Regions from separate parts of the Homo sapiens genome. Here all the other regions are linked to region 4. The links are contacts of gene promoters, found by promoter capture Hi-C in blood cells and fetal thymus (Javierre and others, 2016). All regions are on one chromosome and are shown on one strand. Each heading gives the region's core, a stretch centred on a gene start or on the middle of the fragment in contact. The rest is flanking DNA. Distances are from core to core; before and after follow the strand shown. Region 1 has its middle 28 kb from the start of GSDMC. Region 2 overlaps CYRIB (CYFIP related Rac1 interactor B). Region 3 overlaps CYRIB (CYFIP related Rac1 interactor B). Region 4 holds the start of ASAP1 (ArfGAP with SH3 domain, ankyrin repeat and PH domain 1). Region 5 overlaps CYRIB (CYFIP related Rac1 interactor B).

Region 1 (5,172 bases), core at 917-3,416, 630 kb before region 4:
TGTTTGTCAAGGATATTGACCTGTAGTTTTCTTTCTTGTTGTGTCTTTGCCAGATTTTGGTATCAGGATGATGCTCACTTCATAGAATGACTTAGGGAGGAGTTCTTCCTCCTTGATACTTTGGAATAGTTCCAATAGAATTGGTCCCAGCTCTTCATAATATGTCAGATACAATTTGGCTATGCATACATCTGGTCCAGTGCTTTTTTTGGTTGGTAGATTTTTTATTACTGATTCATTTCAGAACTCATAATTGATATGTTCAGGGCTTCCATTTCTTCCTGATTCAATATTGGGAGTTTATGTGTTTCCAGGAATTTATTTATTTTCTCAAGATTTTCTAGTTTGCATGCATATTGGTATTCATAATAGTCTCTGAAGAAATTTTGCATCTGTGAGGTTGGCTATAATGTTATCTTTGTCATTGCTGATCGTTCATTTGTTCATATTTAGATCTTTCTCTTTTTTTCTTTGTTATTCTGCCTAGCAGTCTATCAGTCTTGTTTATCCTTTTCAAAGAATAAAGTTTTTATTTCATCAATCCTTTGTATGAATTTTTAGGTCTTAATTTCACTCATTTCTGCTCTGCTTTGGTTATTTCTTTGGGTTAGTTTGTTCTTGCTTTTCTAATTCCTTTACTTGCAATTTTAGATTGTTAATTTGAGATCTATCTGACTTCCTGATGTAGGTGTTTTAGCATGATAAACTTTCCTCTTAACGCTGCCTTTACTGCATCCCAGAGATGTGGATATAAGTGTCTCTGTTTTCATTTATTTCAAAAATTTTTTTGATTTCTGCCCTAATTTTGTTGTTTACCCAAAAGTCATTCAGGAGCAAGTTGTTTAATTTCCACGTAATTGTGTGGTTATGAGAGATCTTCTTGGTATTGATTTCTATTTTTATTCCACTATGGTCCAAGAGTGTGTTCAGTGTGATTTCAATTTTTTTGAATTTATTGAGAGTTGCTTTATCACCAAGCATGTGGGCAATCTTAGAGTATGTTCCATATGCAGATGAGAAGAATATATAATCTGGGTAGCTGGGTGGAATATTCTGTAGATTTCTATTAGGTCCAATTAGTCAAGTGTCAAATTTAAGTCCAGAATTTGTTAGTTTCCTGCCTCAATAATCTAATGCTGTCAGGGGAGTGTTGAAGTCCCCCACTATTATTGTGTGGCTATCAAAATCTTTTTATAGGTCTAGAAGTACTTGTTTTTTTAATTTAGATGCACCAATGGTGAGTACATATATATTTAAGAAAGTTAAGTCTTTTTATTGTATTGAACCCTTTATCATTATGTAATGCCCTTCTTTGTACTTCTTGGTTGTTGTTGGTTTAAGTCAGTTTTACGTGATATAAGAACAGTGGCCCCTGCTGTTTTTTTGTTTTTCCATTTGCATGATAAATCTTTCTCCAAGCCTTTACTTTGAGCCAGTGGAGGTTGTTACTGTGAGATGAGTCTCTTGACAATAGCTGCCACTATGTATCTTTTAAGAGGAATATTTAGACTATTCACCTTCAAGATTAATATTCATATGTGAGGTTTTGATCCAGTTGTGCTGTTAACTGGTTGCTATGTAGTCTTGATTGTGAAGTTGCTTAATAGGATCTGTAAATGTACTTAAGTGTGTTTTTGCAGTAGCAGGTATTGTTCTTTCATTTCCATGTTTAGAACTCCCTGATGATCTTTTGTATGACTGGTCTAGTGGTAATGAATTCCCTTAGCATTTACTCATCTGGAAAAGATTTTATTTCTCCTTCACTTATAAAGCTTAATTTGACGGGATATGACATTCTTGTTTGGAATTTCTTTTAAGGATGATGAAAATACACCCCCAAACTCTTGCAGCTTGTAAGGTTTCTGCTGAGAAATCTACTGGTAGCCTGATGAGGTTCCCCTCGTAAGTGATCTGACTCTCTTCTCTAGCTGCCTTTAATATTTTTTCTTTAGCATTGACCTTGGATAGTCTGGTGACTATATGCCTTGGTGATGTTCATCTTGTATAGTATCTTGCAGGTATCCTCTCGATTTTTTTTTTGCTTGAGACAGAGTCTTGCTGTGTCACCCAGGCTGGAGTGCAATGGCGCAATCTCAGCTCACTGTAATCTCCGCCTCCTGGGTTCAAGCTATTCTCCTGCCTCAGCCTCCCGAGTAGCTGGGATTACAGGCATGTGCCTCCGTGCCTGGCTAATTTTTTGTATTTTTAGTGGAGATGGGGTCTCACCATGTTGGCAAGGCTGGTCTTGAACTCCTGACCTCGTGATCTGCCCACCTCAGCCTCCCAATCTGGATTTCTTATATATGATGTCTCCCTCTCTAGCAAGATGAGGAAATTTTTCTTGAATTATTCCCTCAAATCTGTTATCCAGGTTGTTTACTTTTTCTCCTCTCTCAGGAATGCCAATAATTCATAGGTTTGGTTGCCTTACATAATCCTATATTTCTCAAAGACTTTGTTAATATTTTAAAATTATTTATTTTTTATCTGACTGGTTTAGTTCAAAAGATTGGTCTTCAAGCGCTAAAATTCTTTCTTCTGCTTGGTCTAGTCTATTGAGAAAGCTTTCAAAATAATTCCTTAAGTGAGAGTTTTCAACTCCAGAATTTCTGGCTGACTTTTTATGATGTTTATCTTTCTTGTCTTTCATTTCCCGAATTGCCTTAGTAGTTTCTTCATATTAATTTTGATCTCATTGAGCTTCCTTATAATCCATGCTTTGAATTCTTTATCTAACATTTCTGGGTTTCCACTTTGGTTAGGAACATTGCTAGAGTGCTAGTGTGATCCTTTAGTGGTGATACGGTTTGGCTGGGTCCCCACCCAAATCTCATCTTGAATTGTAGTTCCCATAATCCCCACGTGTTGTGAGAGGGACCTAGTGGGAGGTAATTGAATGGGGGCAATTACCCCCATGCTGCTGTTCTCATGATAGTGAGTTCTCATGAGATCTGATGGTTCAAAAGGGGCTTTTCTCCCTTTGCTTGGCACTTCTCTTCCTGCTGCCATGTGAAGAAGGGCTTGCTTGCTTACACTTCCACCATGATTGCTAAGTTTCCTGAGGCCTCCCCAGCCATGCTGAACTGTGAGTCAATTAAACCTCTTTCCATCATAAATTACCCAGTCTCGGGTATGTGTTTATTAGCAGCAGACTAATACAAGTTGTATCACAGCCTTCAAATTTTTCATGGTGCCAGAATTATGCTGGTTTCTTCTCATCTGGAGAGGCTAGCACTTCTAATTTTTCTAATTATTTTCTTACAGGTGGATTTTTTTTTCTTTCTTCATATATTTTTTCTTTTCCTTCTCCTGCCCCTTCCTAGGATGTGTGTCTGTAGAATATGTTGAGTAAGGTCTTGCAGCTTTGCTTGTATACCCCTGTGTACTTCTGTCAGCAGGTTTTATATTAGATTTTGCAGTTTGGCCTACAAGTCAGTAGATAGTGCTTACAAGTAAAAGCCAGCTGCTTCCCAGGCAGATGTGTAAGTACTTGATCTTTGTTTACTATGAGATGCTCTCTGTTGTTTCAGGTGATGGGCTGGACAGTGGATAGCCTGATGCCATGAGCTTCTTCTTCCCAGGATGTAGGGGGACAGAGCTTAACAGAACTGGAGCCCCTGGCTTGCCCACAAAGACACCAATAGTGAGTGCAGACATCAACTCTGATGAGAGCGGCTGGGAGGCATTCCTGGTGAAATGCACTGATGTCTCTCTAGGGGGAGTAGAGGCTGCACAGGCTCCTTCTTTTAGATAGGCAAGAATGTGATCTGTTTCCCTATCACACCCCTGTTCTGGAGCTCATGACTTCTAGGTCAGAGCACACTGTAGTCTACTTCTAGACCACAATGTGGTTAAGAGCCATGAAAAAATGCCTGTTTTGTGACTCTCTATTAGAATGGTTTCAGGACAGGACCTCATCATTCAACCCAATAAATGGGTAGGGAGTTGTGGGGTGCGCAGTCTCCCCATTGTTCCTCTGTTTCTTGGCTGTGACATCAGGGCTGATGGTGAACAAAAATGCCCCATCTTCTTGTTTCCTCCCTGGCCTGAGTGTAGCAGGGGCAGCTGCATTGGCAAAGGTGATTATGAAGGGCTTGTCAGCTACCTCTGGGAAAGTTGGTCCCACAGGAACACAGAGCCACAACCAACTGCAGTGTTCAGGTGGGGATGGGGTGGCTGCACTGGGAGCCCAAGCTAGCAGGTCTTGCCTAATGAGGAGCAGCAGTGGTGAGGAGGGTCACACAGTCTGTCTACTATTCAGTACCATGACTGTAGCATCTATCCTAGGAGCATGCAACAGAGCTTGTCCTTCCTTATTGGTGGGGCTATGTCAGCTGGTGCTGGGCTGCTCAGGGATCAAAAGCCCATAGGGCTACATATGGTCTTGAGCAGTGCCTCTACACAGACTCCAGACAGCACTCTGTGTTGGTCTGGAAACCCAGGGGAGTCAGGGTGGCTTTCCTATGCCCAGAATTGTAAAGTTTTATGGCAGAAGGGCGAATACACTGGGGAATCATTCCCGCATTAGGGAGCTTCCCCCAGCTCTACCCCCGTTCCAGTTGGGCAGCCACCTAGCTTCATTCCTCTCTGTTGTTCATGGATCCCATTGCTTCCTTGGTGAATCCCAGCATGATCTCTTAGATGGTTCACTTAAAGAGCTAAAATTTAGTTGCCACTTAGTTTTCTCTCCATAAAAGAGGAACACACTAACTGCTTATAGTCAGCTATCTGGAGCAAAATATTCTTCTTCATTTTTGAAAGACACTTTTGCCAGATATAGCATTATTTGTTGGCAGTGTTTTTTTCTTCCAGGACTTTGACTATATCATCCCACTCATTTCTGGCCTCCAATATTCCTGTTAATGAATCCACTGATTATCCTGTCGTGGTTTCCTTGTACATGATGATTTGCTTTTGTCTTGCTGCTTTAAAAATTCTGTCTCTATCTTTGACTTTTGACAATTTTTAAATTTTTTTCACAAGAAAATTCAGAAGAGGCCTCTGACAACTTGAGATAATGTTTCTCAGTGTATATTTATTTAGATTCTTCTACTTGATGGTATCTCAGAAGTCCCTTGGGCTCTCTCATTTTTTTTTTTTTTCTTTGAGCTAGGTTCTAACTCTGTCACCCAGTGCAGTGGTATGATCTCATTTCACTACAATCTCTGCCTC
Region 2 (5,080 bases), core at 1,781-4,280, 580 kb before region 4:
GTCTGTATATGCCTATGAATCAATTACCAATTTCTCATACTTTGAATACATCCTTTATTTATAACCACAAACTGTTTGCTTTCAGCTACTAAAGAGAACAAAATATGTGGTTCAATAAGCTTCTTGTCTTAGAACTTGACATTTCAAGACTACAATATAAATATTCTAATTCATTATGTGAGCAAAATGGTCCCTTTGAAATAAGTGCTACTTTTGGGATGCCAGGCTAATAAATACCATGTTTGATAATGGAAATACTAAATACTAATACTAATATTAAATACTAAATACTAATATTTCATTTCAATATTTCAAAAAGCCATAGAAATCAAATGAATTCAGTTACAGATCACAGAACTGGAAAATGCTGCTAGATTCTGGTCAGAGAAAATAAGAGCTTACAGAGTTAAACTATGATCTGATGTTAATAAATGTCAGATTAACAAACAAATATTAATGATAAATTTAAAACTTTATGTCAGGTCATCAGCCCGTAACTTTAAAAAAACCCCAGTTTTCCTATTTATGAAGATTTACGTATGAGTCAACATCTACTGTACACTGAATATAGTCTCCCATTTGATTTTTACCATCAACTATGACATGGTCATTCCAGATGGATCAAATGAGTTTCAAAGAACTTAGAGCCCAAAGTTATAGCTAGTAAATGCTAGGTATTTCTGACTCCAAAGCCCTATTCTTTCTACCACAATAAACTGTCTCTGAAATAAAGCAACATTGTACGTAGCCTCTGTAACTTTATAAAACATTAACCTCCTGATTACTACCAATAGTACCAATTACTTCTGTAACCCTACAAAACATTAATCTACTGATTAAAAACAATAGTAGGTACTTCCTGTGTGTCTGTCAGATACCAGGTACTGAACTATTTCTTCACAGACATTATTTCTCATCCATGTAATAACTCTAAATGACAGCTATTATCCTTTTTTTTCCAGTAAGTCTGAAAATGTACTGACTGGCTACTCTGTGCCAAGCACTGGGAAAATGGATGTAGACAGACATGCTCCCTGTGCCCATATGGAGCCTTATTATATAGAGAGAAGACAGACAAATGATTACAGCTGTGATATGTGCTGAAAATAAGTACAGTGGAAAGGTATAAAAATAAGACCTCACCTAATGGAAGGCCCAGGAAAAGATCTCCCTGAATAAATGACTCCTGGACTGAGACTGAAGTATGTAGTAAGGATGAACATGAGTTTGCAGACAGAAAGGCAGGAAGCCAGACCCTGAACTGAGAAGAGCATGACATACTTGAGGAACTGCAACACCACCAATATAGGAGCACAGAGGGCAAGGAGGAGGGTAACCAGGACTAAGATGATTCATACACATGTAATTTGTGGACCACATTAAGTACTCGGGCTTTGGCATCCTAATGTCCCTAGAGAAATCATCTAAGCAGAGGAGTGGCGTCAGCAGATTCGCATTTTAAAATGCTACTTCATTTGCAGTGTGGAGCATGGACTATAGGGGTATGGATGGTGTATCAAGGTGTAACAGTGGATGTGAAGAAGATCAATTAAAAGTCAAACATTTTGGGTTATATTTTAAAAATGGTTTACTTCTCCCAAGATTCATTCTTTCTGTTGGTGTTAACTGGAAAACTAAGTAAGAGAGACACCGAACAGAAAAAAACATTTTTACAAAATATTATTATAGTCTGTTAAAGAAAAAAAGAAAAATGCATCTGCCTAGACTTTATCAAGTCTCAGGGTTAATTTCAGCATTCCAAGTTCTCTACCACTTTTGGGACTGGAGTCAGGTCGCTTGACTAAGTTGGGATGGTCAGTGACCAGTAGTTGCAGAACTTTTGTCTATGAATGGCTGAGGCCCTCCATGGTAGATCTATGTTGAAAGGGAAGCTCAAGATGATAAATCTGCTAATCTGCCTTTGAAGCAGCTAGATCAGCCTCACCCTGCAGGCCTGTGCTGGCACAAGTCAGTCCTACTAGCCTACAATGCTCTGTCTCAAGAGAGAAACTGGAGACAATCCCACAGAAAATGTCCCAGAGGTCTCTGGATGAGTTGGAGAGAAAGAGAGGACAAAGAAAAGATGCCTGGGATTGGACTCAGATGAAGCTCCTAAAACAAAACCATGAGATTATGATTTTTTAAAAAGCAGATGACCAGGAGAAAATTAATAGTCTATTAAGCCCTAAGTTCTGGAAGAACCAAAGGAAGCTGGCAGATGAGTGCAGGAGCCAAAACCACAGAAGGAGGTTGCAAGGAAAAGACAACTAGAAGGAATGATAAAGATGACAAATCAGTCCACAAGCTAGGACAGGGAAGAATAACTAGTTGATTAGGAAGAGGAGGCCCCTGGGGAGAGTTTCCCTATAGAGACAACAGTCGTTTATTCTCATCAACTGCCATCTATCTACTCTCAAACTCTCAGAAGAGAACCTGAGGACATGGATTCTAAAGGATTTAAGACAACCAAGAGTCATGACCACAATTAACGGTGGGCATTTGGGGCCTTTAAAATACATTTTGATAAATTCTGCCCAGTGAAACGAAGCTAACATGTTGAAGGGACTTATTATGACCCTTGGAGGCAGTCCCTAATGTAAGCCCCTAAAGCATGAGCAAGACTGAGGGGAGACAAAGCAGTTTGTCCTACTACCTGACCATACAACCTTCCCTTAGGTATCTGCCTCAACAGGAGGGGCTCCAAGGCCTCAGAACAAAACAAGCAAGTACAGAACAAGCAAGTATGGCAAGTTTACTGTAGGGTCCAGCCCCACAGGGTCGGTGGGTTTCTCCCCGTGTGCAGAGACGAGAGAGTGTAGAAATAAAGACACAAGACAAAGATAAAAGAAAAGACAGCTGGGCCCGGGGGACCACTACCACCAAGACGCAGAGACCGGTAGTGGCCCCGAATGCTAGGCTGCACTGATATTTATTGGATACAAGACGAAGGGGCAGGATAAGGAGTGTGAGCCATCTCCAATGATAGGGAAGGCCACATGGGTCACATGTCCACTGGACAGGGGGCCCTTCCCTGCCTGGCAGCCAAGGCAGAGAGAGAGAGGAGAAAGAGCGAAACAGCTTACATTATTATTTCTGCTTATCAGGGACTTTTAGTACTTTCACTAATTTGCTACTGCTAACTAAACGGCAGAGCCAGGTGTACAAGATGGAACATAAAGGCGGACTAGGAGCGCGACCACTGAAGCTCAGCATCACAGGGAGATGGTTAGGCCTCCGGATAACTGCAGGTGGGCCTGACTAATGTCAGGCCCTCCACAGGAGGTGGAGGAGCAGAGTCTTCTCTAAACTCCCCCGGGGAAAGGGAGACTCCCTTTCCCAGTCTGCTAAGTAGCGGGTGTTTTTCCTTGACACTGAGGCTACCGCTAGACCACAGTCCGCTTGGCAACGGCCATCTTCCCAGACGCTGGTGTCACCGCTAGACTAAGGAGGCCTCTGGTGGCCCTGCCTGGGCATAACAGAAGGCTCGCACTCTTGTCTTCTGGTCACTCCTCACTATGTCCCCTCAGCTCCTATCTCTGTATGGCCTGGCTTTTCCTAGGTTATGATTATAGAGCGAGGATTATTATAATATTGGAATAAAGAGTAATTGTACCAATTAATGATTAATGATATTCATATGTAATCATATCTAAGATCTATATCTGGTATAACTATTCTTGTTTCATATTTTATTATACTGGAACAACTCGTGTCCTCGGTCTCTTGCCTCGGCACCTGGGTGGCTTGCCGCCCACATTTACCAGGGCAGTGTAGTTAAACCCTGTCAGCAAAACTGAGTATCTTCAAATTAAGCAGGTAATCCTTGCCCTGTCCCATTGTAAGTATGCAAACTGGCAAGGGATCAGGGTCCTTCTTCTGAAGTATAACCCATGGTGTATCTGTAGTGCTCAGGCCAAGAAACCTTCTCCTTAGAACTGCAAGATTCTGAAGGATCATGTGTGTCTTCATAGTTGCATGCTGCTCCATGGTGCTGTTTGTGCTGGAATAGCACCCATGATGGGACACACACCACGAGACCGATTAATTCCCATGGTAAAAATATAACACTTAAGTCCAACTAGTTTGGCCTATTTTACAATTATTCTTTGTGTATTGGGATATGCTAAAAGACCAAGATGAGCTTGAATAGCATCTGAGCACCATCAAAAGCAATTTAACTATAAATGCAGCCAGAAACCAGCGTAAGAAAAGCTGTATATAGTAGAGAAGACAACCAAGACAGAAAACCTAGGCTGATTGGGTTATAAAGTGCAAAGCTACAAACTATAGAGACTCTTGATTGAAAGACAAATACTGTAAAATAACTAATACTAAAATTGGGAAAATAAATTACAATTCTTATTTCCAGTAAGAAAAAGATAATTTATACAATATTTCTATCCAAACTACTGTCTGTCTTAACATTACATTTAACAGGCTGTACTGCATCTAAAGGAAAAACAGCAACTGTCTTACTTTTTTTTAAGAACATAGGCATTTTTAAAAAATGGAACTTCAACTTCAGAAGTTACAAATACAAATGGCCAAATAGCAAATATAAATATAGTAAGATATTAAAAAACATGAAGCAATAAAAACTTATTACAAACTAGAAAGCACAAGTCCTAACTAATGGAGGCAGAGATGGTTTGCCATGTGGTTCTGGCTCTCTAACATGCAGATCAATTATTGCTAGTTGGAGGCTTAAAGAAAAAAAAAAAAAAAACCATACAGTGACCAAGTGTTAAACCTGGCAACTAAGTAGAAATTTTCAAAATTATGTGGGCCAGACAAATCACATCTCTCAAGTCTAAATTTAGCTTTTGGGTCCCCAGTTTGACTTCAGTCTTACAGTATATACCCCCTGGTTTCTGGCTTATGTATTTAAAAAACAATCACAGTATGATTTTCTTATGATTAATTTGTAATGTTTATACATTTCAAAAATTCAAACTATATGGAAGTACGTGTTTTAACTACATTCAAATCGTCCTAATTTCTGACACACATCTATACTATTCCTCTCCTGTGTCTATTCACTGTACAAAATAAAGTGCTTCACATTTACAACTTTAAAATC
Region 3 (5,056 bases), core at 1,960-4,459, 570 kb before region 4:
TTGACTCAAGTTAACAGAAATCTTGCTTTTAATAATACTGGTCATTTGTTTCTCTAAGGACAAATCTTTTATATTTTAAGGAAAAAGGTGGACTCTAAGAGGAAATGAAGGTTTCTTTACAAATCTTTCCAACTAGGCCACATTCAGCACCACAGGTAAGGCATAAAGCACTTAAAATCATAAACATTATGATTATCATATTTTAGAGAAAAATGACTGGCAGAATTCCTCCATGCTAAAATTTTCTCTTATGAGGGAAAAGGAATCAGTCCAAATTTATAAGATGAAGTAAGAACGTTTTTAATACTATCACACTGGTCTTTTAAGTTTAAAAATATTTTAACAAACAAGAAGGTTTTTGGTAAATCTTTGTCTACCAATCATATAAAATTAGTTAACTAGACTTTTCTGCTCCTTTTCACCTCACCACAAATACACAATGATTTCTTTATTCCTTTACTTAGAACATTGTAAAGAAACTTTGTTTACACGTGAAACTGGGAGTAAAGATCCCTAAAAACGGTAACGTTATTTTGTGCTTGGAGCAAGTCATAATTCAATTCTACCTAATAAACCTGCCAAATAGTCAAAAATATACCACATTTTTTTTAAAATTCAATAATTACATTACCAAATTTTAAACTCAACATATGTAAAACAGTACTACAGCAACAATAAAGTAACATTCATATGTAAAGTCAACTTAAGAATGTGTTTACATATCTGTTCCCTTATTTTTCAAATTTCTTTTCAGAAATCATTTTTTAGGAGGAAAATACTGTGACAAAATAATTATACAAGAGGAGCCAATTGAAAAATTAAAAAGACTCTCTATCCAAGGCTACAAAGGTATTATCACTAGGAACAAATACTGATATTGCAACTAAATGGTTAGCTTTCTTATAGATCAAGCTTTGCTATTTAGCAGTAATAATTTACTGCTAAATATTTTACATTTAGCCAGACCATATTTTCCAATGTAATAGTCAGACATACACTCTTTTTAAAAAAGCACACTTCATAACTTTTATACTTACATCAGATTCAGTAGAGAAAAATATGTTTTACATGCAAAAAACGACAGTCTTACACTTTTTCATATGGAATTGTGAAACTACAGACATAACATCAATAGTAGACACGTATTTAGTTTGAATTCATGAAGTGGGAATTCATGACAAAGGACAATAGTTTAGCTATTATATATCAAAGGTATCTGTGAAGTTTGAAAATGCTAGACTATGTATTTTAGGTGTGGTGACTAGCTGTTAACATAAAAATGTGACACTGAGACTTAACATACAAACGAAACATTATCAAGTAGACTTAAGTAGACCTTGTAAGTGGTTAATAACTAGTAAAGGTTTAATAAGTACCAAGAAATTTAAAAATAGAGGAGAAGATTTAAGTTTCCCTTTAGGGTGAGAAAAACACCCAGCACCACAATGATTAAACATTTTTTAGACTGTCACAGGAAAGTCACATTTATAATTTTGAAAGCTGCTGAAGACTGCTATAGAAATGAAGACAAACAGAAAATAGCAGACAAGTAAGCACTACTTTACTGAAAGCAAGTCATGCAAAAGGGTGAAATACTAGGAAGGGGGAAAAGCTGTATAAAACAAAGCTTTTTATTTTATTTTTTTCAAAAAACGGTACTATATAATGCAACCAAGACTTGTCACTTTGATTTTCCATAGAAAAAAATGGCTTTACTATTTAAAAAAAAAGTACCATTTAGTCAGCTTACAAAAGGACATGCAAAATTGCAAAATAATGTATCTACTACTGAGGGTAGACATATTCATTACTCATCAAGCTTAGTTTTTAAAGCTGTTCAAGGGAAATTAAGGCATGTTTCAATTGTTCTTATTGAAGGTAAATTAAAAATTTTATTAACTTCACACTAATTTCTTATAGGGTGGAGGGTAGAAAAAGAGTCAATATAACTGCTAAAATTGAAGTCGTTGTAATATAAAAAGAAGCAAAGATTAACTATGAAATGAAAAAATAAAAAGTCAAGATAAAAATTATAATTGTGATAAGGGGTCTTTCTGCTTTAATTTTACATTAATTCACTTAATAAACCTACGCAATCTATCTCTGTAAGTTACATCAAGACAGAGACCAGAATGTACAGTATGTACCACTGGTACATCTGTAAACTCAGTACCTAGATTTTCTGTAATACATTTTGAATGAATGAGAGGGTACAGAGACATAAATAAGCCTCTGGCATGAATTAAAGGAGACTACTATGCTTTTTGATCTCTGAATAACTATGATCCTATATCATTTTTGAAAAATAAATATAAGAAAGATGACACCAGAATAAAGATATTTCAAAGTACAGGGCAAAACCAACTGAAACTATGCAAGAGATAAATGAAAAAATAAGTTAGAGTAGGTCCCAATATTTCTAAATGATAAGGGGGAAACAAGTAACACAAAGGACACAAGAACTATAGAGGAAATGCATGACTCAATGGAAAGGCACTATAACAGAATCAGAGAAAATATACTCTATTTCTCCCTTAACAAATGACTACCTCTATTTACTCTCCTATTTTGATTTCCCTGGAGGTAAGTGAGTCAAGTTTAAAAAATACTTACTGAACTTCTATCATTTAAAAAGCACTATGCTAAGATTGGGAAAGGACACAAAACTAAATACAAGTCTCTTTTCTCCCAAGAACTAGAATTTAGTGAGCTAGCAGTTATGGAAGTTACTGAGGCTAAAGATTTGTCATTAGAATAAGCTATAAATTAACACTGTTGTTATAAAATAGGAAATTCCAACAACTAGAAGAGGCTATGCAGGCCCCCATTCAGTGCTTTTTTTTTTTTTCAAAGACAGTTTCACTCTGCTACTCAAGGTGGAGTGCAGTAGAGCAAATCACAGCTCACTGCAAGGGCACACATCACTATTCCCAGCTAATTAAAAAATTTTTTTTTTCATACAGATAGAGTCTTGCCATGTTGCCCAGACTGGTCTCAAATTCCTTGAATCAAGTGATCCTTTTGCTGTGGCCTCCCAAAGTGCTGGAATTACAGCCATGAGCCACTGCACCTAGCTCGATTGAGTGCTTTTTATATGCTGTCAATAGCATAACTGCTGCCAAATTTTATGGAGCAATTTTGGGCTTATATTTTAACTGAACTATTATTAAATAAAAACAAAATAAAATCTTATCATATAGGTGTAATCTGTTCTAAGGAAAAAATCCTTCTATCAAGACTAAACGTCTAACTGAATACAGAATGACATTTCATGCCTTAAGGTCTCTGTCCATGTTGTTCCTTCTTTCTACTGTCCTTTACTGTATTAGTTCAAAACATTCTAATTCACTCTCCAAAACCCAATTCAAACATCACCATCAGAAAGTCTTCCATGATGGGCCAGGTGTGGTGGCCCACACCTGTAATCCCAGCACTTTGGGAGGCTGAGGCAGGTGGATCACCTGAGGTCAGGAGTTTTAGACCAGCCTGGCCAACATGGTGAAACCCCATCTCTACTAAAAATAAAAAAATTAGCTGGGTGTGGTGCTGCATGCCTGTAATCCCAGCTACTCGGGAGGCTGAGGTAGGAGAATCACTTGAACCCAGAAGTGGAGAATGCAGTGAGCCAAGATCATGCCATTGCACTCCAGCTTGGGTGACGGAGTGAGACTCCATCTCAAGAAAAAAAAAAAAAGGTCTTCCATGATGATTCTCAATCTACTCCCTGCCATTTAAAGTTAGTATCTTCATGAGCTACACGTTGAAAATAAATAATTTAAGTAAAACTGAGTTTTCTGGCAGGTGGGCACCTGTAATTCCAGCTACTTTTGGGTACTGAGGTGAAAGGGTCACTTCAGCCTGGGAGGTCAAAGCTGCAGTGAGCTGAGATCATGCCGCTGCACTCCAGCCTGGGCGACAGAGACTGACCCTGTCTCAAAAACAAAACAAAACAAAATTATGAGCTTTCGTGTCTATCCTCTCCTACTAGATTGAGAGCTTCCAGCATGTATGGGTTGTATCTTAGTTATTTTGCAACCCCAGCACCTACTGGCTGGTATACAGGAGGCAAGGCATAAATGTATGTTGAACTGAAGTGAAAAACAGTTACAGGGGTCATGAGAGGAGTAAATTAAAGGAATAATGATTTACTTTAAAGACAATCTTAATTTTGTAAACTACAAGATTCCATTAAATTACATTTCAAATGCACTAGAGTATGTCATTTGTATATAATATGATACAAATAGCGAGGTAATCTGCATGAATTATTTCTGTAGTCACCCAACTGCAGAGACATATTGGGTCACCCAACTGCAGAGACATATTGGGTCACCCAACTGCAGAGACATATTGGGATAGACTTAATCAATCAGATTAATAAAACAGTAAAACTAAATTACTCTGGTGACATGAATATTAAAGTGCATCTAGAAATAAACAATGTAGTACTAATTACTCTAGCAAAAATAATGTGGCTTTAAGTTATTGAGAATTAGCAGATAACTATGTTGGCAATTTTGAGTCTGGTATAAAGCAGTATAAAACGGTTTAAGAGAACACCCATCTGATAGGCCAAGGTCACCATAGTAGCTTATAAGGTAAGCTTTTACAAACGCATATTTCCAAAAAGAAGAAAAATATACAGAGATTAAATTAAGATAATGCCAATGTTAGAATCAAAAGACAATGTATCTAAAAATCTAAATAAGAAATAACAATGGGTAAACTCTAGTTTGGTATACAGTATGCTGTCACTAAATTTCATTTATAGTATACCAGTAAGTATAAAACCAGAAGATCTACATTGGCTGATATAGGCAACAATATCTGCCTTTACAGTTAACATTTTATATGTATTTCTGCATTATTGGTTATTATTGTTGCTTGCAATTTTTACCTTTTCCTGTCACTATTATTAAATTATAATAATGTACCAGGTGCAGTAGCTCACACCTGTAATCCCAGCACTTTGGAAGGCCAAGGTGGGTGGATCACTTGAGCTCAGGAGTTTGAGACCAGCCTGGGCAACAGAGTGAAACCCCATCTCTACCAAAAA
Region 4 (5,313 bases), core at 493-2,992:
AGATACTGCCCTTTTTTGGACCTGGGAGTTTCTATTTTGCACAAAAGAATGGGATAGGGAAAGTAATTCCCCGTATAATAAGCCACTCATTTTATACTTCAAATCCATTTGGTAGCTGAATCTCCAAATCCACTTAGTGGCGTTAGGTGATTTTTGTTTTTTTTAACTCCCTATCTCAAAATATGCAGTTTGAAATAAGTGCATATCTCAAAAATAGCAGCATTAACAGGACAGAAGAGAAGGCACTAAAGTGGTGAAGGCTGTGACGCAAAGAAGACGTTTCCAAATCTGTTTCATGGCTAACAGATCAAAATCTAACACAGAAGGGGCATGGGACTGAGCCTGAAGAAGTGGAAACTACTCCTGGCCATGTGATCTTGGGCAAGTCAGGTCACCTTTCTGGGCCTTCTCTGAAGGGGGTGAATCAGTTGTTCTCAAAGATCTTTTTCTTTCCAAACTGTTCACTGGGTGTTTCCAGAAGACCCGCATTTTCTTAAAGCTATCTGGCCGCGCTACAATTGCAAAACAGAAAGGCTTTGGGATGAAGGTTGCAATACAGATAACCCTGGCCTAAAAACTGATAAGCTTTTACAATCCCAAAACATTACTCAGCAATCCAGGTCCTGATGTCATCCCAGAATCAATCACGCCAAGATAACCTAACAGAGTAGACAGGGGAAAATGCGAGAGAAAGTTCTTTTGCTTTCCTGACGAGTACAGGTAAAGTTGAGGTCAAGTTAACGATGATGGTCTGCAGTTGACCATCCTTCTCCCTGAGCTACTGGAAAACCACATTATTAAAGGAAACTGCTTTAGAAGTGCCCAAGATGAACCTCTTGGGATGTATCAAACCGCAGAAAACCGGACACCGGCAAGTTTCTTTTTTCTTTGAAACTTCATGTCGCTCTCAGAAAACGCAGCAGGTCCCAAAATGGTACAAGCAGAAAACACAAGCCACTTCACGGTCCGCCCAGGAGCCAACCCCAAGCTCCAAGTAGGACTCCCCCCACCCCCTTCCCTTTCGTTTCTCTTCTTTTGCTTTAGGCAAGTGGCCTGGGGCCTGCCAAGCAGCGCCGGGTCCGGGTAGGGGCCGGGGGCCGCGGGGAACTTTCCTCGGCTGCACCAGAGACAATGCCGGGAGGGCGCCCCATCGGCGGGGTCCGGGCCGCCAAGCACGTCGTCCCGGGCCCTCCCCCGGAGGGGGACGCGAAACCCCCCAGGGCGGGCCCCGTCCCCGGCCCCACTGCAGGGGCCCCCTCTCCCGAGCTGGAGGCGAGGAGACCTCCCCCCCCCACCGGGCGGCCTCGCCCGGCCCCGCAGAGCCTGGCCGCGCGTCCCGCACACGCCCCAGCCCAGGGCCGGCGCCCTCCCCGCGGAGAAGGACACCCCGCTGCGAGAGGAGCCGGGAGCCCGCCCCGCGCCCCGTCCCGGCGCCCTTCTTCGCGCGAGAGACTGGGCAGGGGGCGCCCGCGACTGTGGGCGACTCCGCCCGGCCCCGCCGAGCGCGCCCGAGCGCCCCGCAACTCACCGGGACCTGGCGGGCCGCTGGGCATTATTCCATCGCGGGTTCGGCCGGGCGCTCGCGGCTCTCGGGTGGGAAAGCGAACTGCGACCGGGAAGCGCCGGCTGGGCGGGAGGCGCGGGCCCGGGGCTGCCCAGCGCACAGTGCTCGCCCGCGGCAGCGGCCAGGCCAGGCGAGGCGCGGGAGCCGAGCGCGGCGCAGGAAGGGGCGGGCGACCATGTGCCGAGGGGGAGGAGGCCGCGGCGACGCGAGCGGCTCGCACGATCCCGCTCGGCGGCGGAGGGCGCGGGTTTCAGGAAATCCAAACACTTCGACAGGAAATCGGAATCCTGACTAAGCATTCCCGGCCCCGAGCCGCTCCGCGCCGGGGGCTCCCGCCTCGCTTAACCCTTGGCCCGCCGGCAGCCACGAGGGGGGCGTGGGAGGGGCCCCAGACCTCGGCCGGGGTCGGGCGTCCTTCGCCTTCCGCCCCATGCCCCGGCCGGCCGGCCTCCTCCCCGCCTGAGGTGGAAGGGGTGGGATTTATCCACAGAAAACCCTGGACGCGGAAGGTGCCTTTCTAAGGCCGGGACAGCGGCAAAGGACGTGCCTGTCTTCCATCTGCAGAGGATGGACCTGCACTGTCCTGGCCGTTACCCCTATTTTCAGTAAAGGAATGATTTCACCAGGCTGCCCCCTTTCACCACTTCCTCTCTGCTCTTATAATTTTATTTTTGCCCAGTGCCAAGGGAACAGGACCTTCCCAGTCAGGATAGTATAGGAACAGTATGGAGAGTAATTGTGTGGGCTGCAGGCTCTGTGTCCGGTTGGAATATGGCCTTTTTTCTACTCATGTTACCTTGAGTAACTCGCTCAACTTTCCTGAGCCTCAGTTTCCATTTATGAAATGGATGTTAATTCCACCCTCATAGGTTTGATCTGGAAGCTGAATGTTTAGACAGGGACTGGCACATTGGAAACGCCCAAATAAATGATAGCCATGCTTGTCCTTATTATTACCATTAAAAGACATCAGAGAAAGGAGGATTTTAATTTGTGGGATGTATATTGTGCATATCTATGTCTACTTTCAAAGTCAGAGACAGTAGTCTTTCTTTAGAACTTAATTTCCCTCCTAATCATTGGGTGATTGTTTTTCTTTGCAGCATTTCAGAAACGGCTCTCTGCAGAGGAAATGGTTAGTGGCTGTGGCAGACCCCCTTCTGGTGAAATCCGAAACAGAAAACCTCACAAAATTTGGGATTTTGCTCCTAATCTGAGAGTCTGGGTGTAGTGGGGAGTGGGGGTTGTTAAACAGTCTGGAGCGGATTTACAAAGTTTGGGAAAACCAAAATCAATCTCTGACTGGGCAGAGAGGTCGGGCAGCCAATGAGTGATTCATTGTGGTTTCCCACGGAAATGCCACATTTCGGGGGTGTCTACCTGGAGGATGCAGCTTGGTGGTTTTGCTGTAAGTGTTTCAGATTCCTTTGAAACCCAATCAGACTTTGAAGAGGGAACAACATGCTCATGAGCGAAAACAGAAGCCTGAAATGAACCTGCTGGGAACTGAAAGTTGGGTACCAGCTCGTTTACTCCAAGTAAGGAACAGATACCAGTTTTAGACCCAGCATTGTTCCTTTTCTGCAATTCTCTCTCCGTGGCCAGAAGCAGTAGGACAGCTCTGAGCTGGGCACCAGGAGTCCCAGGGTCCTGCTCCAGGCCCACTGTAGCTGCCGTCCCCTCTGCCTGGAAGAACCCTTGTATGGCTGTTCTTGGCACGCAGCTCACAGCCCAGAAGTCAGCTCCGCAGATAGGTTTTCCCCAACCATGTGATCTGCTTGTCTCTGGCACCTACACCCCACCTCCACCTCTCCCAAACATAGCGCATCCTGTTTGATTGCTTCATAGCCCTTGTCACTGTTTAATGTAGCCTACATGATTGGTTGCTTATTTTTTATCTGCCCCCCACTCTCCCCACTGCATGGGTAAACTGCATTACAGCAGTACCTTTGCCTGTTTCCTTAGAACAGTGCTGGCCCATATGAGACCATCGATAAACACGTGTTGAATAAATGAAAGAAGCAAACAAACTAGAGTTGCAGATGGGACCTCTGCCTGAGGTAGGGTGGTTCACTCGGTCCCGCAGCTCCCTGTGGCTTCCTCTTTGGTGGAGAGATTCAAAAGGGAACGCCCAGTGCGGTGGAAGGAGCACCAGATGGCTCTATTAGTGCTTCTGGAAAACTAAAACTATAAGTAGGCCAGGCGCGGTGGCTCACGCCTGTAATCCCAGCACTTTGGGAGGCCGAGCAGGTAGATCACCTAAGGTCAGGAGTTTGAGACCAGTCTGGCCAACATGGTGAAACCCCGTGTCTACTAAAAATACAAAAAATTGCCGGGCGTGGTGGTGGGCACCTGTAATCCCAGCTTCTCCAGAGGCTGAGGCAGGAGAATCGCTTGAACCCGGGAGGCAGAGGTTGCAGTGAGCTGAGATCATGCCATTGCATCCCAGACAGGGTGACAGAGTGAGACTCCGTCTCAAAAAAAAAAAAAAAAAAAAAAAAAAAAAAAACCTAAGTAATTAAGACTGTCAAATGAGGTAACTATAGTCTCATTGGTATAGTCCCAGTTAATTACTCCCTCCTTTGTGCTTCCTTGGCATTTCTGTTTAAAGAATATATTTGTCATATTGTATACTCACTAGATGACTGTTCTCCTAAATCAGATGGAGGAAAGGAGTCCACATTTGTTGACCACTTGCTCTGAGTGGGTCCCTGAGCAAGGTGAACTTGAATTCATTTTAAGGCATCGGTTAAGTGCCTGTAATGTGCTAAAAAAATCTGGGCCCTACATGTGCAATGATGAAAAAGAACTATTCTTGCTAAGAAAGACAGGAAAGCTCTATCTAGTAAGCAGAGAGATAAGTACTCTTATAGAGTCATGTCCAGGGTATCCAGGGCTATTCAGAACATTGAAGGTGGAGTAGGGTGGAGATAAGTTGGAAAATGCTTCCAAGAAGTGGGTGCTCTTGAACGAACTTTCAAGGAGGAGATGGGACCTATGTAGCTAGATAAGGGGGCACAGGCCTGCCAACCAGAGTAACAAGCGTGAGTGTTAGTGATGCTCGGCTCCATGTCCCCTGGGCCCACCTCTGAGCTCACCGGCAGCTGCAATGAGCTGCCCTCTGTACAGAGAAACTGTCTATCCAAAGCAGGCCCCCTTTCTCCTCTCTACCAGGAGGCTTTCTCAAGGGCTGTGGGATCTTGCCTAGCCTGGAAGTTTCCAACAGCCCTGGGTCAGTCCTTAACCAAACAGTGGATGAATGTGTCAGCCTCCCCTTCCCTAAGGAAGATCAATTCTCAAATGCTCTCAAGGCAGTTCCTCAGAGGAATTCCCCAGTAGGAATGAGTCCAGTTGCCCCCAGCAGTCACTCCCTCATTAAGTCACTCTTTGATTTTGCCTCTTCTCCCTTCCTTGCCTTACTTTCTCACTTCCTTATTTGTTCTTGGGATCCCAAATAAAGTAACTGCACCCATCTCCTTGTCTCAAGGTATACTTCTGGGGAAACCCAATCCAGAGTAGTGTTCATGCATATATTCACAGATACTGGCTGGGCACTCCCAAGTGCCTGAGTAAAGACTGAGCATGAACACATAATATATGTGGGTGACTCTACCAGGTTCAGCATGATCTGAGAACATGATGCATGTTCAGACATGGAAAACAATGAGACTAAAAAGCCTTACACCATCTTGCAGTTGAGGAAACTGAGGCACAGGAGTGTTGAGTAACTTGCCCAAGGCCAACCACTA
Region 5 (4,974 bases), core at 2,130-4,629, 530 kb before region 4:
AATTAAACCCTTTTCATTGATGAGCAATCAGAGGCTTTAAAAGGTTAAGTAGTTTGTCCAAGGTCATGACTAGAGGGTAAGGAATTGGGAAAAGGAGCGGAAGGGACAGAAATGAGGAAGGGAACAGAGGGAGAAAATTACTTTTCAGGAAACAATCTTGTTCAATATTTATTATAATATTCCTTTCTGTAGATGTGATTTCTTGTAAAACAAATACTACTTTTCCACTAACTTCTTTTATTGTAAAATTAAAAATGATTCTTTAAAAAAATAACCCACGGCCGGACGCGGTGGCTCACACCTGTAATCCCAGCACTTTGCGAGGCCAAGGTGGGCGAATCACGAGGTCAGGGGTTCAAGACCAGCCTGACCAACATGGTGAAACCCTGTCCCTCCTAAAAATACAAAAATTAGCCCGACTGTGGTGGTGTGCAAAAAAAAAACAAAAATAAAAACAAACAAAACCTACAACAGCAATAATGCTGTTTTCAATTATGAAAAACCTGAGGCAAGGGCTAAATTAAAAGGCTCACCAGGCTTTGAGGACATTATACAGAACCTTCTTACTTCTGGATCTCCTGGTTACTGTCAATATCTTGCCCTGATTACTGACCATCTACAATGGGACTTTTCTGATACTTCAACTCAGCTAAGTTTTGGAACATACAGCCATGGAGAGACTGTAAAATGCATTTTTGATGGCAGGTGCTGCAATCGTGCTAACCTAAAGATTCCACAGGTTTAAGATACGTTCTGTGAAAACAAGTAAGTACCTTATTTTGCAGCTCTATAAGCTCAAACTCTGTAAAATTAAATGCTAGTTAAAAGAAAGAATTTTTAGTGTTCATTTAATCTACCCCACATGTTCAAACCCCCTTATAACATTTACACACATAATTTTAAAGGAATGGTAAATACAAACAGAGGTAATAACATAAGGCAAATAAAGCTTTACAGTTTATATATATACACGCTCCAAATTTACCCCAGGTTCGATTTCATAAAAGATCAAATAGTTGAATTTATACATCCTGCTAAATATATATATATATGCTCCAAAATTATCTGAAGTTGCAAACTGCACTAGCACTGAAATGACCATTCCTTCCAGCTTCTCACCTGCTTCACCACTCCCCCAGTACCACTCTCTCCACCTCTAGTCCAATGCTGCAGTTATCTGAAATTACAAAGTTTTTTTTTTTTTTTAATTATGACCAAGTTTGGCTTACCTGAGAAGTGCAAGGTTGGTTCAGAATACCTACTGTTTTCACCACCCTAACAGATTAAAAGAAAAAAGCCATATAATTACCTCAAAAGATGCACAGATGCACTCTGGGGTTGGGGGAAGGGGAGGACTGGGAACAGAGAAGGTGCATTTCAATGAAAACAAAGACTTGGGTTTTTTAAATTTGCCTTTATTTTTATTTTTTTATTTTAGAGACAGGGTCTTATTAGGATGCCCAGGCTGGGGCTTTCTTTTCTTGCAAGTCATTTTTTTTTCAAACAATTCTATATGATAATCAACAGGATGAACTAATGAAGGCATATTAAAGAGTGGTTCAGGTAAAATGATTCAGTGAATTCCTAATCTGTGTGTCATGTTTACGGTGACAGAAAACAAGTGTGTTCTCTACTGCTGTTAAAGTTATCTCTACTGCTGATAAATTTAAATACAAAGCGCAAAAGTGAATCCTACAATGCAATACCATGACTTTCAGGAATCTGCTTCACTTTTTTTTTTTTTTTTTTTGAGACGGAGACTGCTCTGTCACCCAGGCTGGAGTGCAGTGGCATGATCTAGGCTCACTGCAAGCTCCGCCTCCTGGGATCACATCATTCTCCGGCCTCAGCCTCCCACGTAGCTGGGACTACAGGCGCCGGCCACCACGCCCGGCTAATTTTTTGTATTTTTAGTAGAGACAGGGTTTCACCGTGTTAGCCAGGATGGTCTTGAACTTCTGACCTCATGATCCACCTGCCTCAGCCTCCCAAAGTGCTGGGATTACAGGCGTGAGCCACCCCTGGAATCTGCTCCACTTTCAAAATCATGCCTACATAAGCAGAAGCTCTTGAGATAAACCTTGTCTTTCCCCACAGTGTTGTAATTACAGTAAAAGCTTTTCCATAATAATCAGAACTAGAAGTTGTTCAATTAATTGCAATTATTGATAGAAACATTTAAAATACATACACGTGCATTCATTAGCTAATCCTTTTTTAAGAAAACCAAAGCACATTCTTCAATGACAAGCCATTGCTAGAGTATTTTCCAGCCACTATGATCCAATGTTTTTGTAGAAATTACCAGAGGAGAAAAATATTTAATTTTTAAAAACTTACAAAGTGGAAATTCCAATTCTTCACAGACTACGTGTGAACAGTTCATGGACCAGTGCTGGTTTGCAAAGTGCGCTTTGAGTAGCACTAGTATAAATAAAGCACGGGCTCTGGAGCCAAACTGTGAGCCTCACCCTTGGACAAGTTTCTCTCTCTCTAGTGGGGATAATATTAATACCTACCACCTAATTGGGTTATTATGAAGATTAAATAAGAATATGTCTAGCATTTAAAACTGTCCCTGCCAGATAAGGACTCTATAAATGAAAGTTGATGTTATTATCATTATTACTATTGTATAGACCATAACCATAAATACACTTTTTCTAAAATGTCTAGTTTTTGTCTTTTTTAAATGTAATGAGAAATGAAGGTACTGAAAATACAGAATTCTTTATAGTTTTATCCTTTTCTCCAATTTTTTATATCCTGATCCATGACCAATCATATCACTTCTTTTAAAGTGAGTCACTAGTCACTGCATACCTGTTATTCACTAAATGTACAGGCTGCAGAGCAGTAGCTGTCCTGTGTTACTTCCCTGTCCCCAGTGACAAATCCATGAGATACTTTTTTTTTAAATGGGCAACTGAAGGAGAGGATTTGCCAACAAAGACGAAAGTGAAGCAAAGAAACAAAAGCGATAATGCTGGAAATAAAATTCTAATGGAATATAAATGGAGTTACAAAAGAAAGAGTTGACTGTGAGAATGGTGACACCGCTGCCAACAGGGAGACTAAATATGCAGCCAGAGGAACCTTCTGAAGGTAAACTGATCAACATAAGAGAGTGGTTATGGTGAAAAGGATGACAATGTCTCAGAGGAAGTCATGCCAGCAAAAATCCTTCATATTAAAGGAACTTTTACATATACTTCTTGATATTCACAATGTAATGGATAAAATGTTTGAAGCTGATTCAAATTTAGAAGTATTAACAACTTGTCCAAGGCCTAGAAATGATGCTCACTCCACACTGTACAACAGGGAAGAAGAAACCAGGCACAGTTCTAATTACTCTTGAAAAGATTTTTACAAATAAATAAAACACTTTAGTTTTCAAGGTTTAAATTACACTGTACTAAGTAAATACTAGTTTTACTGTTTTATCCATTTCCCTATACATTTTGCAACAATGAGAGTTATGTTTTGACGAAAATTTCTAAAAATCATGAACAACATAATTTCTAAGATTGCTTTGCAAAATTTAAGTCTGCACAAGTATTTTTACATTCCACAGCACAAAATGAGAACTGCCTGTATACACAACTTTCACAACCTAAGAAGGAAAGCAACTGAATCTAAAAACAGGCAAAAGATTTCAACAGATAATTCACCAAAGTTAAATGGACTGCAAATAAGCACTTGAAAAGATGCTCAACACCATCGGGCACTAGAGAAATACAAACTGAAAACATACCAGATGGCTAAAAAAATACTGTAAATGACCATACCAAGGGCTGGTGAGAATACAGTGCAAATGAATTCCTATACACTTGTGCAAAGCCACTTTAAAAAGTTAAATATACACCTTCAATATGACACAGTCATTCCATCTACGTATTCATCCAAGAAAAATGAAAGCATTATGTTCATACAAAGAATCATACACTAATGTTCATAGCACTTTACTTGTAGTAGTCTCAAACTGCAAGCAACCCAAATGTTCATCAACAAATGAATGGACAGACTGTGGTATTTCCATATGCTAGAATACTATTCAGCAATAAAAGAAACAAGCTACTCACACATCCAACAATAAATATAAATCTCAAAATCACTATGCTGAGTTGAAGAAGCCAGATATAAAAGAATATATATTGTATGAGTCCTCATATATAAGATTCTAGGAGTTAAGTCTGGGCAACACAGTGAGACCCTGTTTCTAAAAAAATTAATTAATAAAAAAGTAAGATTCTAGGAAACGCAAACTAATATAAGGACAGAAAGGGCACAGGTGGTTGACTGGCGTCTAGGGGCAGGTAGGGTGGATAGATTTGAAGCAGGCAGGAAAAAACTTTGAAGGTGATTATGTTCATTATCTTGATTGTGGTGATGGTTTCATAGGTGATTAACTATGTTGAAGCTCCACAAACTGTATGCTTAATAAAACTTTTAAAAATGGTCCATGGACCATCTGCATCTGCCAAAAATGTGGATTCTCAGGCTTGCCACAACCCACTAAATTTTGTGGGTCAAGCCTGAGAAATTGCATTTTCCAAGATCCACATTACTCTAAGGTATGTATTTACTCTGTAATCTAGAGGATCTAATGCCTAGAGTCTCCAGAAGAACTATCTCACTCAAGCTTTAGAACTTAAGACATCTTATTACATTCGTATTTATATTTTAACTTTGAAATCTGATATATAGGTGATCTCTGAAATAGTTCAATAAAAGAAAAAAGCCCATAGAGACAAAAGTTTTAAAGCTAAAAATAAGCTTTATGATTTCAATTTAAAATCATATCTTGTCCCAATTCCATTTCACAAATGGGAAAGTTGAGACCCAGAAAGGTTAAATTTGGGCAGAGTCAGTAATAAAATGCAAATCTTCTATTCTACTTTCTTCTGAAATGAAATTCTATCCAACTTTCTTCTACAAAGGCTTCTATTCCTCTGCTTTCAATTTCTCCTA

What was found. The method cuts DNA at HindIII sites, captures the fragments that hold promoters and counts their contacts. A CHiCAGO score of 5 or more calls a contact.
Region 1: a fragment that was not itself captured here is called in contact with the fragment with the promoter of ASAP1 in region 4 in 1 of 17 cell types (total B cells); the score reaches 5.1 in total B cells.
Region 2: a contact is called between a fragment that was not itself captured here and the fragment with the promoter of ASAP1 in region 4, in 1 of 17 cell types (monocytes). The highest score is 5.1, in monocytes.
Region 3: a contact is called between a fragment that was not itself captured here and the fragment with the promoter of ASAP1 in region 4, in 3 of 17 cell types (naive CD8 T cells, monocytes and total B cells). The highest score is 6.5, in naive CD8 T cells.
Region 5: a fragment that was not itself captured here is called in contact with the fragment with the promoter of ASAP1 in region 4 in 2 of 17 cell types (non-activated CD4 T cells and neutrophils); the score reaches 5.2 in non-activated CD4 T cells.

The regions. Positions count from the first base shown.
Region 1 is chr8:129,812,157-129,817,328 of GRCh38, forward strand. No RefSeq gene overlaps it. Among named protein-coding and RNA genes, the nearest start is that of GSDMC, 28 kb to the left of the region's middle. The HindIII fragment of the contact is 792 bases long and covers 1,771-2,562 here.
Region 2 is chr8:129,856,156-129,861,235 of GRCh38, forward strand. The region is part of intron 7 of CYRIB (CYFIP related Rac1 interactor B); the gene reads right to left. Among named protein-coding and RNA genes, the nearest start is that of GSDMC, 72 kb to the left of the region's middle. The HindIII fragment of the contact is 5,826 bases long and covers 118-5,080 here.
Region 3 is chr8:129,872,435-129,877,490 of GRCh38, forward strand. All of the region lies in intron 5 of CYRIB (CYFIP related Rac1 interactor B), which reads right to left. Among named protein-coding and RNA genes, the nearest start is that of GSDMC, 88 kb to the left of the region's middle. The HindIII fragment of the contact is 2,784 bases long and covers 1,818-4,601 here.
Region 4 is chr8:130,441,932-130,447,244 of GRCh38, forward strand. It overlaps ASAP1 (ArfGAP with SH3 domain, ankyrin repeat and PH domain 1), which reads right to left and starts at 1,743. Exons shown (of 30, transcript NM_018482.4): 1 at 1,529-1,743. RefSeq lists silencers at 1,298-1,377, 1,428-1,587, 1,598-1,687, 1,728-1,827. The HindIII fragment of the contact is 9,673 bases long and covers 584-5,313 here.
Region 5 is chr8:129,911,241-129,916,214 of GRCh38, forward strand. The region is part of intron 2 of CYRIB (CYFIP related Rac1 interactor B); the gene reads right to left. Among named protein-coding and RNA genes, the nearest start is that of MIR5194, 95 kb to the right of the region's middle. The HindIII fragment of the contact is 2,528 bases long and covers 2,116-4,643 here.